2 separate regions of the Homo sapiens genome follow, and region 2 is linked to region 1. Evidence: promoter capture Hi-C in 16 types of primary human blood cells and fetal thymus (Javierre and others, 2016). All regions are on one chromosome and are shown on one strand. The core of a region is centred on a gene start or on the middle of the fragment in contact, and the rest is flanking DNA. Distances in the headings are between cores, read along the strand shown. Region 1 holds the start of PRKAG2-AS2 (PRKAG2 antisense RNA 2). Region 2 has its middle 16 kb from the start of GALNTL5.

Evidence for each region. Contacts are between HindIII fragments. The CHiCAGO score rates a contact against its expected background, and 5 or more counts as called.
Region 2: a fragment that was not itself captured here is called in contact with the fragment with the promoter of PRKAG2-AS2 in region 1 in 4 of 17 cell types (monocytes, M1 macrophages, M0 macrophages and 1 more); the score reaches 9.7 in monocytes.

What each region holds. Positions count from the first base shown.
Region 1 is chr7:151,804,885-151,807,773 of GRCh38, forward strand. It overlaps PRKAG2-AS2 (PRKAG2 antisense RNA 2), which reads left to right and starts at 1,454. Exons shown (of 3, transcript NR_171033.1): 1 at 1,454-2,152; 2 at 2,488-2,751. The region is part of intron 1 of PRKAG2 (protein kinase AMP-activated non-catalytic subunit gamma 2); the gene reads right to left. The HindIII fragment of the contact is 22,647 bases long and covers 1-2,889 here.
Region 2 is chr7:151,938,638-151,941,526 of GRCh38, forward strand. No RefSeq gene overlaps it. Among named protein-coding and RNA genes, the nearest start is that of GALNTL5, 16 kb to the right of the region's middle. The HindIII fragment of the contact is 719 bases long and covers 1,106-1,824 here.

The DNA.
Region 1 (2,889 bases), core at 204-2,703:
AGTTTTCTGGGATGTCTATATCCAATAGGTCATGATGTGAAGTTCCTCGCCGTGGCTCACTGTCAAAGTCTGAAAGCCGCTGCGGAAGTGGCTCAACGCATGGCAGGCACAGGGGCTCCATGGGGTAAGTAGCCCACAGGACAGCCACTAGGAATGTGGTCCCTCCCTGCATACATGTGCTGTCTCCTGTTGAGTGGGCGAATCTGTTCCTCCATCCTTGAGTTGGGGCAGCTGTGCTCAACAGAAATGCAGCAGAAACCACACCACCTGACTTCTGGGTTAGGTGAGAAGGAACCTCGCAGTTCCTCCTGGATCTCTTGTAATGTCTGCCGCGGGTGAAACCAGCTGCCACGTTAGGAATCTGCACCAAGACCACCATGTTATGAGGAAGCTCAAGCCAGCCACGTGGAGAGGCTGCACGGATGGAGAAACAGCTGCACGGCCAGCCCCAGGGAGTGATGTGAGAGTGAAGGAGCCTCTAGGATGTGCCAGGCTCAGCTGCCACCTGACTTTTCAAATAGGAGGAACCCCCAGTGAGAACTCAGCTGAGCCAGATGACTCCTAAATCCATGAAAGATGATTTCAAATCATATTTTTAAGTTTTGGGGTGGTTTGTTATGTAGCAATAGGTGATCTTGTGACTATGTAACCCTGGGAAAGTTACTTCATTTCTCTGTTTTTTAATCTAAAAACTGGGAATCATGGGAGTTCCTACTGGAAAATGAGTTAACATATAGAAGTATAGAACCACATATGAGTTAACAAAGACATGGCTGTGATGCCTGGGACTCATTTGGAAAACATGAGTTATCACTTTAAAATGCTTCACTGAGTTTAGAGGCAATATACTATGATTACTGAACCCAGGGACACTACAGATTCTTCCTTCTCAGAGCTTTGATGAGAGGAAAGAGGCAGATTCCACCTTACCTTCAGGTTTGCCAAGATCCTTCCCCAACGTACAAGTGAAAGGGAGCTCAGGAAGGCAGAATGAAGGGACACATCAAATCCTTGGTGACAAAGTTTAGGACAGGCTGGGCACAGTGGCTCACGCCTATAGTCCAAGCATTTTGGGAGGCCAAGGCAGGCTGATCACCTGAGGTCAGGAGTTCTAGACCAGCCTGGCCAAACCTGTCTCTACTAAAAATACAAAAATTAGCTGGGCGTGGTGGTGGCCGCCTGTAGTCCCAGCTACTCAGGAGGCTGAAGCAGGAGAATCGCTTGAACCCGGGAAGCGGAGGTTGCAGTGAGCCAGGATCCCACCACTGCACCCCAGCTTGGGCGACAGAGCGAGACTCCGTCTCAACAACTATGACAACAACAAACAGTTTGGGACAGAGAAAAATCCCTGTAAACTTCAAGCCTTTTGGGGTGCTCTTGGGTGAACTCCTAAATTGCTCAAGGGCTAACTTCCTCATTTATTATTAAAAGAAAAAAGAAAAAGGCAGAGGCCAGTGGTGAAGGCTGGCGATTTCTGGTCTAGGGTGAGAGATAACAGAAAGTAACAATGGAGGCTCTCGCAGTGCTCGCAGGCACTCAAGGAACGGAAAGGAAATTGCACATTTCACCCGTGACTGCATAGGCAAACGAGAACAGCAAGTCTCTGCTTTCAGCTGGAATGTTATCAACTTCGGTCACGCTGATTATCTCAGGCTGATCAGGAAGGCTGGTACCAGGAGTGAGTGACTAAATGAAGAAATTACTAATTAACAAATGCTTGGGTGGACAATCCTTCAAAATTTAGGATCAATGGGAGGAGACAGAAGGAGTCTTGGGAGGATTTTTAAAATATGCCAGAGCTGGCTGGGTACAGTGGCTCACACCTGTAACCTGAGGACTTTGAGGTGGAGACGGGCAGACCACCTGAGCTCAGGAGCTCAAGACCAGCCTGGGCAACATGGCAAAACCCTGTCTCTACTAACACTATAAAAAGTTAGCTGGGCGTGTTGGTGCATGCTGTAGTCCCAGCTACTCAGGAGGCTGAGCCACGAGAATCGCTTGAACCTGGGAGATGGAGGTTGAAGTGAGCCAAGATCGCACCATTGCACTCCAGCCTGGGGAAAAAAAAAAGCCAGGCCTCCTAATGTACTCATTTAAACATCACTTGTGTCCACCTGGGTTCAGAATTGCGCTGGACATGGGATACACAAAGGTAAGACATGGACCCACCCTCAAGTCTGAAGGTGGAGGTGGGGAAGGGCAGAGGCTGTAAAGGGTCAGAGGGACCTTGTGGAGTGGTGGAAATGTTCCAGATCACACTGTGGCGGTGGTCACATGACTGTGCACACTTACGACAACCCATCTAATTGTATACTGTCAGTCAAAGGGCATTATATGTAAATCACACCTCAATAAAGCTGACCAAAAAGTGGCCAGTCAGCCACCAGCAGACCCATGGGATAGGGGAAGAAAAACAAGCAATCTACAGAACGTGGGAAAATGCCTATATTAAGAATCCTGGAATACTCCATGTGCTTTTTCATGCAGCGGGAGTGGAATTTTCAGGAAGCAGCTGTGCTGTGGGTGACGGTCATACTTTATTCTCTAAAACTCTCCAGTTTCAATTGGCCTCTTGGTGCCAAAGCACCATGGCGTGTTACACCTATCAGATCGGGCACACTGCCCCTTCTTCCCAACCTACGAGCTGAAATGGCCAGCACTGCGCCTTCCAGAACCCAGCGTAGATGCACAGCTGCCACGGAGGTAGGAAGAATGATTCGTTTGCCACCAAAAGCCCAGTTTCTCCAACAGGTAAGTCCCAGCAGGGTGCGATGTCCCAAACCTACACAACCGTTTCCACTGCCTATTCCCGGGCCCCTCACTTGGGTCAAGGCAGCATTTCAGAGGAAGCCAGGAGCGAGAACTCGTGCATCCGAACCCTTCTCTGAC
Region 2 (2,889 bases), core at 215-2,714, 130 kb after region 1:
GAGGAAGCTGCAGAAGGAAGTTTGAAGCTTTTGAACCTCATTGGTTCATGAGATTTAAAGAGCGAAGCCAGCTCCATAAAAAAGTGTAAGATGAAGCAACAAGTGTTGATGGAGAAGCTGCAACAAGTTTTCCAGAAGATCTAGTTAATTAAGATCATTGATGAAGACAGGAGCACTAAACAACAAATTTTCAATGTAGACTAAACAGTCTTCTATTGGAAGAAGATGCCATCTAAGACTTTTCATAGCTAGAGAGAAGACATCAATGTCTGGCTTCAAAGCTTCAAAGGATAGGCTGACTCTCTTGCTAGGGGCTGATGCAGCTGGTGTCTTTAAGCTGAAGCCAGTGCTCACTTGCCATTCTGAAAATCTTAGCGTCCTTAAGAATTATGCTGAATCTATTCTGCCTGTGCTCTAGAAATGGAACAACAAAGCCTGAATGACTACACAACTGCTTACAGCATGGTTTACTGAATATTTTAAGCCCGCCGTTGAGACCTACTGCTCAGAAGAAAAGATTCCTTTCAAAATATTACTGCTCATTGACAATGCACTTGGTCACCTATAAGCTCTGAGGGAGATGTGCTAGGAGATAAATGTCGTGTCCCTGCCTGCTAACACGATCACCATTCTCTGCCCATGGATCAAGGACTAATTTCTACTTTCAAGTCTTATTATTTAAGAAATAGATTTAATAAGGCTATAACTGCCATAGATAGTGATTCCTCTGATGGATCTGGGCAAGGAAAATTGAAAACGTCTGGAAAGGATTCACCATTCTAAATGCCATTAGAAACATTCGTGATTCATGGGAGGAGATCAAAATAATAACATTAAGAGGAGTTTGGAAGAAGTTGATTCCAGTCTTCATGGATGACCTTGAGGGGTTGAAGACTTTAGTGGAGGAAGTCACTGCAGATGTGGTGGAAATGCAAGAGAAATAGAAGATGGGACTGAACTGCAATTTCATGATCAAACTTGAAAGGATGAGGAGTTGCTTCTTTTGGATGAGCAAAGAACGTGGTTTCTTGACATGGAAACTACTCTTGATGAAGAAGCTATGAACACTGTTAAAACGACAACAAAGCATTTAGAATATTACATAAGCTTAGCTGACAAAGCAGTGGCAAGGTCTGAAAGGACTGACTCCAATTTTCAAAGAAGTTCTACTCTGGGTAAAATTCTATCAAACAGCATCACATGCTACAGAAAAATCTTTTTGTGAAAGGAAGAGTCAGGGGAAGGGCAGGGGTAGAAAAAAATTAAAAAAGAAGAGTCGATGGATACAGCAAACTTCATTACTGTCTTATTTTAAGAAATTCCACAGCCACCCCAACCTTCAGGAACCACCACCCTGATCAGTCAGCAGCCACCAACATCGAGGCAAAACCCTCCACCAAAGGAAGATTACAACTCCATGAAGGCTCAGATAATTGTTACCATTGTTTAGCAATAAAGTATTTTTAATTAATACAGTACATTTTATACATAATGCTATTGCACACTAAATGGACTACAGTATAGAAACATAACTTTTATATGCACTGGGAAACCACAAAAATGTGTGACTCACTTTATTGCAATATTTGCCTTATTGCAGTAATCTGGACTGAACCCACAACATCTCTGAGGTATCCCTGTAGACAGAGGACAGAATGGGAGAACACGCTTGCAATATCCAAAGCTGACAAGGGACTAGTGCCTAGAAAATTCAAGGAACTCATGCAAATCAAGAGGAAAAAGACAGAAAGTGGAAAAAGGGATAAGATGTAGATAGGCAATTCATAGAAGAAGACACCCCAAAGAGCACCAAACAAGAAGAGAAGCTTAGCTTCATCCGAAATCAGAGAAGCGCAGATGAAAACCATGTTCCTTTGCATCCGTTCATGGCTGGGTCCCTGCCAGAGCAGCCTGGACCAAGTACTGGAGCTGGACTCAGGACAGCCCATGGATGAGGCTGCCAGCAACAGAGGAGTTGTCTTGTCTAGCTCAGAAAGATTTTTTTATTGGGAATCTGTTTGGCAAATTGAAAATTAGATTAGTGAGTTAGAAGGGAAGAAAGATAAGAGGGAGAGCCAGAGCAAGAGGGCCCGGGAGGGTGCAGGGCGGAGTGGGGGGCGCTGGGCGTGGGCACACGCTGGAGCATCCAGTGGGGGCTGTGGGAGGTGAAAGCCAGGGCCCCAGAGAGGAGACTCAAGAGATGCTGGGAGAGCGGCCACCAGTCCTGGGCCACTTCAGTGTTTCTCAGCTCTGCTCTTGGATTTTTAATATAATTTTGTTACTGGGGGAGGGTGTCCAGGTTCTTGGCATTTTGAACAAAGAATTGGACAAAACATACAAACAAAGCAAGGAAAGAATGAAGCAACAAAACCAGAGACTTATTGAAAAGGAAAGTACACACCACAGGGTGGGAGTGGGTCCAAGCAGTGGTTCAAGGGCCCTGGATAGAGAATCTACTCAGGTCTAAATACCCCGTAGAGCTTTCCCATGGGCCACACTTCATGCTCACCCCATGTAAATGAAGAGGTGGCCCGCAACCAATCAGAGGCTGAAATGAAGCTACAAAGTTACTCTCTTCTTCAAACATCTGATTGGTTGCAGAAAGCAACCAATCAGAAGTACTTGCAATTTCCCATCTCCGGGGCACAGAAAAGGTGGGGGTTTGCAACGGGAGTAGCCTCTGGTCCTTTTGTTACTTAGGCATGGAAAGAGGGTTTTCCTTTCAGTCTAGTTCCAGGAAGTCAGCGTGAAACGGCCTAGGTTCCCTGCCTCCAGACCCTATTCTCCTGCCTCAATTTTGCTGGCTATCTTCAGGAACCCTCCTACCTCCCCACCCCATGCAGATACACCCCTTTATTTGAATTAGCTTAGTGGATACCTTTTCCTTGC